2 separate regions of the Homo sapiens genome follow, and region 2 is linked to region 1. The links are contacts of gene promoters, found by promoter capture Hi-C in blood cells and fetal thymus (Javierre and others, 2016). All regions are on one chromosome and are shown on one strand. Each heading gives the region's core, a stretch centred on a gene start or on the middle of the fragment in contact. The rest is flanking DNA. Distances are from core to core; before and after follow the strand shown.

The links. Contacts are between HindIII fragments. The CHiCAGO score rates a contact against its expected background, and 5 or more counts as called.
Region 2: a fragment that was not itself captured here is called in contact with the fragment with the promoter of NDUFC2 in region 1 in 2 of 17 cell types (naive CD4 T cells and M2 macrophages); the score reaches 5.3 in naive CD4 T cells.

The regions. Positions count from the first base shown.
Region 1 is chr11:78,077,738-78,083,301 of GRCh38, reverse strand. NDUFC2 (NADH:ubiquinone oxidoreductase subunit C2) reads left to right here and starts at 3,440. Exons shown (of 3, transcript NM_004549.6): 1 at 3,440-3,723. The coding sequence starts at 3,558. NDUFC2-KCTD14 (NDUFC2-KCTD14 readthrough) reads left to right here and starts at 3,440. Exons shown (of 3, transcript NM_001203262.2): 1 at 3,440-3,723. The coding sequence starts at 3,558. LOC105369401 (a long non-coding RNA gene) reads right to left here and starts at 2,107. Exons shown (of 3, transcript XR_950342.2): 1 at 1,861-2,107. RefSeq lists a silencer at 3,268-3,457 and an enhancer at 3,661-3,720. The HindIII fragment of the contact is 4,740 bases long and covers 291-5,030 here.
Region 2 is chr11:77,985,822-77,991,385 of GRCh38, reverse strand. INTS4 (integrator complex subunit 4) reads left to right here. Exons shown (of 23, transcript NM_033547.4): 2 at 87-278. Among named protein-coding and RNA genes, the nearest start is that of INTS4, 6.1 kb to the left of the region's middle. The HindIII fragment of the contact is 1,128 bases long and covers 2,931-4,058 here.

The DNA.
Region 1 (5,564 bases), core at 2,191-4,690:
AATCCTGGGCTGCAGGCATTCCTTGGCCCACTGGCCAGATTTCTGGCACTTGAAGCAAGATCCTGAGGGAGGAGGTCCTGTAGGAAAGCCTGACCACTGCAGCTTAGGCATTTTGAAGTTCTTGTGTGCCGGAGGTGCAGCTGGGTTTTGTCTCACAGCAGAGGCAAGTAATTGTAACTCAGAAATGTGTTTCTGCTTGGCTGCCTCTTCTCTATTATTGTACACATTGAAGGCGAGGTTGATTAATTCCTGTTGTGGGGTTTGAGGGCCAGATTCAAATTTTTGAAGCTTTTTTCTGATGTCAGGAGCTGACTGGGTGATGAAATGCATATCAAGAATAAGACAGCCTTCTGGCCCTTCAGGGTCTAGGGCTATAAAGCATCTAAGGGTAGCCACCAAACAGGCCATGAACTGGGCTGGGTCTTCATCTTTACCTTGGGTAGTTTCTTTAAGTTTGTCATAATTAACAGATTTGTATGCTGCCTTTTTAAGCCCTTCAACTAGGCAGGAAATCATGTAATCTCACCTAGCTATACCTGAGGAACCTGCCTGATAGTGCCACTGGGGATCTTCTCAGGGAACCGTCTGTAATACCTTCCTGGAGGCCTGGCTCATAATGCCAGTGGGTGTCTGTGTGGGACTAGGCTAGAGGAAACACTCTTTCCCATTCATCTGGGGAGAGGGTAGAAATTAGGATGACATTTAAGCCACTCCAGGTTAAATTGTAAGACTGGGTTAAATACTGGAATTCATGTATATATTTGGTGGGGTCTGACGAGAAGGAGCCTAAGTGTTGATTAATTTGGGAAAGGTCTGATAGAGAAAATGGTACATGCACTCTGACGATGCCCTCAGTTCCAGCCACTTCTTGAAGAGGAAATTATTGGGCAGGTGGGGGAGTATTTGCCGCAGAACGAAATTGTAAGCTGGACCAGGTGTGGGGAGGGGAGATGATAGAAGGGTTGTAGGGTGGGGAAGTGGAGGCTGAGGAAGAGTTGGAAGCTGATTCAGCCTGGTGGGGAGCGACCTGAGGAGGAGCAGTCTAGGGAGGAGGGTAGAAGTCAGATGGGTCGGTAGAAAAGAAATATTCAAAAGACTCACCGGCACTTCAGGTTGGGACTGAAGGGACAGGCGGGAGGGAAAGAAGGAAGATTTGCGGCAAGTCGCACTGGGAACAGAGATTAGGGAAGGAACGAAGTGTAAAAAATGCCTGGATGTAGGGCACCTCAGACCATTTGCCCATTTTATGACAAAAATTATCTAGATCTTGTAGGCTGGAGAAATCGAAAGTGCTCTTTTCTGGCCATTTAGAGCCATTATCAAGTTTGTATTGGGGCCAAGTGGTGTTGCAGAAGAAAATAAGACACTTAGGTTTTAGGTCAGGTGAGAGTTGAAGAGGTTTTAAGTTTTTAAGAACACAGGCTAAGAGAGGAAGAAGAAGGAATGGAGGGCTGAAGGTTGCCCATAGTAAAAAGGTAAGTTTAGAGAAAGGAGGAGGTTGAGACATGGAGAGAGGGGGGGTGGTACTTGCCACCCAGGGGAAGTGGTACTTGCCACCAAGGTGGAAGATCAAAACAGGTGTCCCCGCAGTGATCGAACACCTCTGAAATGTGGGTGAATAATCAGGCAGGCGTCCCTGCAGTGACTAAACACAAGGGAAGACAGTCTTCCCGAGTCCATGACCAGCGCCAGAGTTTTGGGTCCACAGATAAAACGGGTCTCCTCTGTCTCTACCAGACAGGGAAAGGAACCGAAATTAAGGGAAGGGAGAGACTGAAGGGTGGTGCCGAAATTGAAAGGAGAAAGAGGTTGAGGGATAGTGAAAGAGGTTGAAGAAGAGAGTAGAAAGAGGCCACTTACCCGATTTAAAATTGGTGAGATGTTCCTTGGGCTGGTCTGAGGACCCGAGGTCGTAGGTAGATCTTCCTCACGGAGCAAAGAGCGGGAGGACAGGGGATTGATCTCCCAAGGAAGGTCCCCCGATCCAAGTCATAGCACCAAATGTCAAATGCATCCGTGTGAAGAGACCACCAACAGGCTTTGTGTGAGCAACAAGGCTGTTTATTCACTTGGGTGCAAGTGGGCTGAGTCCGAAAAGAGAATCAATGAAGGGAGATGGGGAAGGGGTTGCTTTATAGGATTTAGGTAGGTAATGGAAAATTACAGTAAAAGGTGGTTGTTATCTATTGTTAGCAGGGGAGGGGGTCACAAGGTACATGATGGGGAGATCATAAGACTTATTGTCCAGAAGAAGAATGTCACAAGGATGGTTGATCAGTTAAGGTAGGGCAGGGACCAGTCACAATGGTGGAATGTTTGTTAATCAGTTAAGGCAGGAAGTGGCTGTTTTACTTCTTTTGTGGGTTTTTGGCTGCCCCAGACTTCTTGGCTCCCGCAGGCCATCTGGACGCATATGTGCAAGTCACAGGGGTTACAATGGTTGAGCTTCGGCTGAGAGGCCTGACAGCAGAGACTGGAAAATTGCTTAACAGAATTATAAATTCCTTCTTTCATTACTCAAACCTTTTTTTTTTTCTTTTTGAGACGAAGTTTCGCTCTTGTTGACCAGGCTGGAATGCAATGGTGCGATCTCGGCTCACTGCAACCTCCACCTCCCAGGTTCAAGCGATTCTCCCCCCTCAGCTTCCCGAGCAGCCGATTATGCTGCCTCAGCCTTCCCAGTAGCTGGGACTACAGGCACCCGCCACCACGCCCAGCTAATTTTTTGTATTTTTCGTAGAGATGGGATTTCACCATGTTGGCCAAGCTGGTCTTGAACTCCTGAAGTGATCCGCTCACTTCAGCCTCCCAAAGTGATGGGATTACAGGCGTGAGTGACGGCGCCTGGCCTCATTACTCAAACCTTTAGGGAACACCTCCTCACTCAGCCATGTGTAACGACGTGAAGACCCAGAGGTGAAACATTTTAGGGTGCTGCCTCCGAATCTGAATTTCAACAATAGACTAAAACGATCCAGTCCTGGGCTTCTCTAAATTCTTTTGTTGCTGGCCAGACCTTAATTTTAGGCTTTGGAGGGAGTGTCTATGCGAATGAACGACTGAAAACTCAGAAAACGAAAACTAGCTTTTATGGAATTTCAATTAATTACGTTTATCAAAACTACGCATCATGCCCATTTGTGGGTATTGGATGAAAAGATAAATCTTTCCAGAAGGGGCAGGGGAGGGAGAGGCAATTCTGGTTGGGGAAGTTGGGAGAAAAGAAAATCAGTATCTCCTAGTCTTCGCCCAGTTTGGCTCGTTTGGGGTACTCCTCGACCCCGCGTTACCAGGCCCGTGAATCCCACTCCCACCAGAGAATTAGCGCGGGCGGACGAGCAAAGTGAAACTTAGTAGCCCGGAACTTCGCGTGCCGGGTTCCCGCAGCAACACGTACCGGGAAGCGTTTGGGCGCTGCACCGCGCTGCGCCGTGCCCGTGAGTCCGGCGCGCAGAGGAGGAGGAGAAAGCTGACCGCTTAGGCCGGGGTAGTGGTCGTCGTGGTTTTCCTTGTAGTTCGTGGTCTGAGACCAGGCCTCAAGTGGAAACGGCGTCACCATGATCGCACGGCGGAACCCAGAACCCTTACGGTTTCTGCCGGATGAGGCCCGGAGCCTGCCCCCGCCCAAGCTGACCGACCCGCGGCTCCTCTACATCGGCTTCTTGGGCTACTGCTCCGGCCTGATTGATAACCTAATCCGGCGGAGGCCGATCGCGACGGCTGGTGAGTGCTGCGCGGCCGGGATCGGCTGGGAGGAGAAGGGGTCGTAGGGCTGCAGACTGGCCCGGCCGTAGGCCCCCCTGAGGTGCTCTGCTTTTCCGTGCCTTTTTGCCTAGCTGGCCCCATCTCGCCTTTCCGGGGAGTCCGCGCCCCATTAGCTCTTTAGAATCAAGCAGAGCCAGAGTGTCATTTGGCACTTGAAGAAACTGAGGTGCAGTGAAGCAGGAACTGAGTCTGTGAAGGACCCGAAACTACTCTCCTCAGTTCGTGTTGTGCTGTGTGCGCAAATGAGCCATGACTCCATGCCATGCACTACTCACACTGTGGGCATTATTGATAGCATTTCGGCCTTAAAACACTTTTAGGGATGTATTATTCACAACGAGGAAACCGAGCCTAACAGATTAACAGCAGCTTGCCCAAGGTCATATGGCTATTAAGTAGCAGAGCTTGGTTTTTTTTTTTTTTGACCTCTGAATGGATATTGGACACCAGTGCTTCTCAAACTTAATGTGCATACGAATAGCATAGGTGTCTTGTTAAAATTCGGATTCTGGGCTGCGCGAGGTGGCTCACACCTGTAATCCCAGCGCCTTGGGAGGCCGTGGCGGGCGGATCGCCTGAGCTCAGGAATTCGATACCAGTATGGGCAATAGGGCGAAAACCCGTCCCTACAAAAAAATACAAAAGTTAGCCGGGCGTGGTGGTGCACGCCTGTGGTCCCAGGCTGAGGGAGGCTGAGGCAGGAGGGTCGTTTGAGCCTGGAAGGCAGAGGTTGCAGTAAGCCGAGATTGCACCATTGCACTCCAACCTGTGCAACAAAGTGAGACCCTGTCTCAAAAAAAAAAAAAAAGCGGATCCTGATTCATGAGGTCTGGGGAGGAACTTGATGTTAACAACAAGCGCTCAAACACTGCTGCTGCTGGTCTGAGGACCACGGTTTGAATAGGAGGCTCTAAACCAGTGTGCTGTACTTCCCAGTAGTATGTCACTGGCTTCCTATCAGAGACACTGACTATTCTGATAATAACCACCACAGTAGCTTTGCTAAGCTCTATGGATTTCCAGAGGGAAAAGAGGAGAGGAACTTTGGAAGAGGGGTCTTTGAAGTTAACTTTGATTATCAGGCAGGACTGAGAGACAGACAGCTTTCTAGGCCCGTGGGGCTAGTGGGAGCTAATGGGGGCAAGGACCTCTGAATGGAGGGTGTTTGATGATTGAGTGAGTGTTCAGGTTTAGATAAAACTGCAAGGGAGATTTTAGCAGAGCATGGCAATTTATTTTCTAGGCAGTCAGGAACTTTGTAAGCTTTTGAGAGCTGCAAGGGTGCAGTGATGAGCTCTGTATTTTAAAAAGTCATCTTTGTCAGCAATGTGAGGCGTTGATTGGAGCCAAGAAGCACAATCAGGAAAAAAGCTCAGGCAATGGTTCAGGCAATTAGGAGTCACCACACTTGTACCTCTTTTGCCTTCTTACAGCTGTATGTCATGCCTGAAGGTCAGCTCCCAACCCATCAAATCCCACATTTCCAGTGCTCAAATAGTATTGAAGTCCTATCTCCCTTGGACATAACTCCTCACTTCAGAAAGGAGTCATCTTTGTCCGTTTATGCCTCTGAGGACTCGAGGTTTTCCCTTTTCATCACCACTTCATATTTGCCCAAGACTGTCACTTGGTGTAATGAAAAGAGCTCCACTTTGGAACTAAACAAACTTGCTCACTAGGCACAGGCACTGTGGTTCACACCTGTAATCCCAGCACTTTGGGAGACCAAGGCAGGAACATCTCTTGAGGCCAGGAGTTCAAGACCAGCCTGGGCAACATAGTGAGACCCTGTCTCTACA
Region 2 (5,564 bases), core at 2,245-4,744, 92 kb after region 1:
TTGGTATAATGGAAAATCATTTCCACCAAATGAGGCAAAGTTAAATTTGCAGATTCTGTGTTTTCGATTTTCTCTACCCCTTGCAGCCACAGGAGGAAATTGCTACTAAGAAACTCCGACTAACAAAACCAAGTAAATCTGCAGCACTCCACATAGATCTGTGTAAAGCTACCTCCCCAGCAGATGCTTTGCAATACTTGCTCCAGTTTGCCAGGAAGCCTGTCGAGGCGGAAAGCGTAGAGGGAGTAGTCAGGATTCTCTTGGAACATTATTACAAGGTAAGAAAATCTTGAGGATCTGATGGGAGTATATCATGGGAGTTGTATCATGTCTGCAGAATGGTTAATATTACAAATAAATAGGGTATTCATTAGGAAGCTTTTATTGAGTGTCTTCCAAGTGCTAGGTACTATGGATACCGAGATAAAAAAGATACAGATCTTGACCTCAGAAAGTTATACTGTGTATAGTAGATGGAAACAAGACATGTCAATGATAAGGTGCATCATACTGCTGAAGTTACTGTGAGTGCAGTATGTGCAGAGTACAGTGGAAGCACAAAAGAGGAGTAAATATCAATCATGACCCATTCATCTCTGGAATGTGGTCCTGCTGTTCCTTTCCTAATTCATGGCCCTCATATCTAATTGCAGTGGCCCTCTTTTTTAATTAAAAATACATTTTTTTTTTTTTTTTTTTGGAGACAGAGTCTCGCTCTGTTGCCCATGCTGGAGTGCAGTAGTGCAATCTTGGCTCGCTGCAACCTCTGCCTCCTGGGTTCAAGCGATTCTCCTGCCTCAGCCTCCTTAGTAGCTGGGATTACAGGCACGTGCCACCACACCCTGCTAATTTTTGTATTTTTAGTAGAGACGGGGTTTTGCCATGTTGGCCAGGCTGGTCTCGAACTCCTGACTTTAAGTGATGCAGCCACCTTGGCCTCCCAAAGTGTTAGGATTACAGGCGTGAGCCACTGCGTCTGGCCAAAAAAACTGTTTTTGAGACAGAGGCTCACTGTCACCCAGCCTAGAGTTTAGTGGCATCATCATAGGTCACTGTAGCCTGGAACTCCTGGGCTTAAGTGATTCTCCTGGCTCAGCCTTCCACGTAGGTGGGACTGCAGACGTGCCACTACTCCAGGCTAAGTTTTGCATTTTTTTTTTTTTTTTTTTTGAGACTTGGTCTGTCACTCAGCCTGGAGTATAGTGGTGGCACAATCTTGGCTCACTGCAACCTCCGTCTCTTTGGTTTAAGTGATTCTCCTGCGTCAGCCTCCAGAGTGGCTAGGACCGCAGGTGTGTGACACCACACCCAGCTAATTTTTTTTGTATTTTTAGTAGAGGTGGGGTTTTGCTGTGTTGGCCAGGCTGGTCTTGTACTCCTGACCTCAAGTGATCCATGCACCCTGGCCTCCCAAAGTGCTGGGATTGCAAGCGTGAGCTACCATTCCCAGCCCAAAAATCATTATTATTATTACTATTATTATTTTTGAGATGGGGTCTTGCTTTCTCGCCCAGGCGGGAGTGCAGTGGTGCTATCACGGCTCACTGTACCCTCGACCTCCGAGGCTCAATTGATCCTCCTGCCTCAGCCTTCTGAGTAGCTGGGACTACAGGCATGTGCAGCATGCCTGGCTAATTTTTGTATTTTTTTTTTTTTTTTGTAGAGACAGGGCTTTGCTATGTTGCACAGGCTGATCTCGAATTCCTGGGCTCAAGCAATCCACCCTCCTTGGGCTTCCAAATTGCTGAGATTACAGGTGTGAACCACCACACTCAGCCCCCAAATTGTTAAGCTTATGGAAAAGTAGATAAAATACTATAGTGACCTACCAAATATCCATTCCTAGAATTTAACAGTTATTAGTATTTTGCCAAATTTGCTCTATTTTTTCGCTGAATTTTATTTTATTTTGTTATTATTTTTTTTGAGATGAGTCTCACTCTGTTGCCCAGGCTGGAGTGTAATAGCACTCCTGGGTTCAAGCAGTTCTCCTGCCTCAGCCTCCCAAGTAGCTGGGACTACAGGAGTGCGCCATCACGCTCAGCTAATTCTGTATTTTTAGTAGAGATGGGGTTTCACCATGTTGGCCAGGCTAGTCTCGAATTCCAGACCTCGGGTGATCCACCTGCCTCGGCCTCCCAAAGTGCTGGGATTACAGGTGTGAGCCACCGCGCCCAGCCTTGTTTTGTTGAATTTTTAAAAAGATATGTCATTTTTTTCTAATTATTTCATTACATATCTATTAAAAAGGGATACCTTTTTGTTGTTTTCTTTTTTTTTCTCACTGCTATGAGAAAGTAGAGGGACTTTTTATTTTTTAACATAGCCACCTAACCCTAATGAATAAAGTTAAGTAATTCTTTAATGTCATCTAAGAATTAGTTGATATTTAGATTTCTGTAGTTGTTCTCCCAGTACCTTTTTATAGTTGATGTATTCAAATCAAAATGCAAACCAGGTCCCCACATGGCATTCAGTCTTTTCAAAAATCTACAACAGTTACTATTTTGGTGACATTGATTTGATGAAGAAACTGAGACAGTTCTTTTGTAAAATGTCTTGTTTTCTGAATTCATTTACTTCTTTAAGGATTAACTTGTTCCTCTGTTCTCTGTATTTACTATGAACTGAAAGTTAGATCTATAGGCTTTGTTAGATTTAAGTTAAGCATATTTTTGACAATTTTAAGACTATGTTATAAATGGTGACTTGTACTTCATATTGCAGCTATCAGCATGCAAATGTCACCGTTACATTGAGGTCTTCCTTTACCCTTCTGTTTCATATCGAAACTGCCTATCCCCACCCCGCACTTCCTAGTCCCCTTCCTTGATTTTGTTTTCTCCATAGTAATTACCATCTTCTAATATTCTGTATAATTTCTTGTTAATTATGTTCCTTGTCCATTTCCCCATGCAGGAACATAAGCTTCCCTTGAGCAGGGATTTTTATGTTTTTTAATTGTTGTTTCTACAGAATCAAGAACAGTGCCTGGTAAAATAAATATTTGTTGAATGAATAAATGAATTAATTGATGCTTTTGTGATACATTTTACTCAACAAATATATATCAGACTTTGTTCTGGGCACTGGACGGTGTCCATTAGCACAATTGTTAAGTCTTATGCGTTGCAATTGTTTGCCATATGTGTCTATCTCCTTCAGACTTTGAGCTCCGTAAATTCAGAGGCTGCAGATCCATTAGTCTCTATCCCAGTGCCTGGCAGGTTCCTAGGAACATTGAAGGGACATTATAAATGTTTCACTTATGTTTTACGTGAATAAAATCAGGCTTTCTTTTTTTGTTGTTCTTTTCTTTAAAAAATTTTTTAAAAAATCGTATCTATCTATCTAGAGACTGGGTTATGAGACTGGCTAATTTTTATATTTTTGATAGAGATGAGGTTTCACCATGTTACCAAGGTTGGTCTCAAACTCCTGGGCTCAAGCGATTCACCTACCTCAGCCTCCCAAAGTGCTGGGATTACAGGCATGAACCACTGTGCCTGGCATCTTTTTGAGTGTTGCTCTGTTGCCCAATCTAGAGTGCAATGGCGTGATCACTGCCCACTGAAGTCTGGACTCCCAGGCTCAAGCCATCCTCCCACCTCAGCCTCCTGAGGAGCTGGGACCACAGGCACATGCCACCACTCCCGGCTAATTTTTTCTTTTTAATTTTTTTTGTAGAGATGGAGTCTCTCTGTGTTGCCCAGGCTGGTCGCGAATTCCTGAGCTCAAGCAACCCTCCTGCTTGGCCCTCCCAAAGGATTGGGATTACAGACGTGAGCTACCACATCTGACCAAAATCAGGATTTCTGTTCTCAAGAAGTTTTCGATCTCTCAGTGATCTATTTTCCGTTAGTCTTTTTCTTAGCAATATCTACCATTATTATTATATTAAAGATCTGTTACCAATAATCATCTATAATAATACTTCTTAGAGCAGTTAACATTATATTGCTTGTTAGAGTTTGAAAGCACTTTCCATATGTAATATTTTATTTAATCCTGGTGACAGCACCATTGTTATCTCTAAATTCCAGATATGGAACTAAGCTTAGAGCTGTTTAGTATCCAAGGTCACCCAGCTAGTAAATGGAAGGTATGGATTTGAACTTGGGTTTTTTTTTTAAAAAACCTTTTGTTATGGAACATTTCAGATATATACTATGTAAGTAAAGAGAATAGTTTAATTAATTCCCATGTACCCATTACCTGGCTTCAAAAATTATCATTTTGTGGCCAAACTTGTTTCATTTTCCCTCTTCCCCAATCCACTTCTACTTCTTTACCCTCACCTTCTCCACCAGATTCTTATGAAAATAAATTCCTGGCATCATATTATTTTAATCATAAATTTTGATTTATATCTTTAAGTGGTGAAGACTCTTTTTTTATTATTATACTTTAGGTTCTAGGGCACATGTGCACAACGTGCAGGTTTGTTACATGTGTATACATGTGCCATGTTGGCTTGCTGCACCCATTAACTCATCATTTACTTTAGGTATTTCTCCTAATGCTATCCCTCCCCCAGCCCCCCACTCCCCAACAGGCCCCGGTGTGTGATGTTTCCCGCCCTGTGTCCAAGTGTTCTCACTGTTCAATTCCCACCTATGAGTGAGAACATGCGGTGTTTGGTTTTCTGTCCTTGTGATAGTTTGCTGAGAAGGATGGTTTTCAGCTTCATCCATTTCCCTGCGAAGGACATGAACGCATCCTTTTTTATGGCTGCATAGTATTCCATGGTGTATATGTGCCACATTTTCTTAATCCAGTCTATCGTTGGTGGACATTTGGGTTACTTCCAAGTCTTTGCTCTTGTGAATAGTGCCGCAATAAACATACGTGCACATGTATCTTTATAGTAGCATGATTTATAATCCTTTGGGTATATACCCAGTAATGGGATTGCTGGGTCAAATGGTATTTCTAGTTCTAGATCCTTGAGGAATTGCCGCACTCTCTTCCACAATGGTTGAACTAATTTACACTCCCAACAGTGTAAAAGTGTTCCTATTTCTCCACATCCTCTCCAGCATCTGTTGTTGCCTGACTTTTTAATGATTGCCATTCTAACTGATGTGAGATGGTATCTCATTGTGGTTTTGATTTGCATTTCTCTGATGACCAGTGATGGTGAGCATTTTTTCATGTGTCTGTTGGCTGCATAAATGTGGCGAAGACTCTTAAAAAACATAATCTTTTGTCATGTCTAAAAGCAAAATTTAACTCAGGTGTTCTGATGTCAGATCTCAAGCACTTTAACCAGTCCATGCTGCATGCATTAATCAAGTGGACCCTAGCTCCTAAGGAAATGAGGAGGGATGCCAGATGGACCCAGTTCTAGATTGTTGACCATAGTGTTTTTTACCCTTTCTTCTGTTCTATCCAGAAATGTGGTATTTTATGTTAATATTTTAGTGGATAAAACTACTCTGGCTTCTGCTTTTTCCTACTTTTTTTTTGTGATCAGGCATTAGTATCTGAACTTATTTCACATGATTGATTCTTCACTTATGCTACTGTGCTAGTAGCTATGGAGGATGCAGAGCTGTGAGATA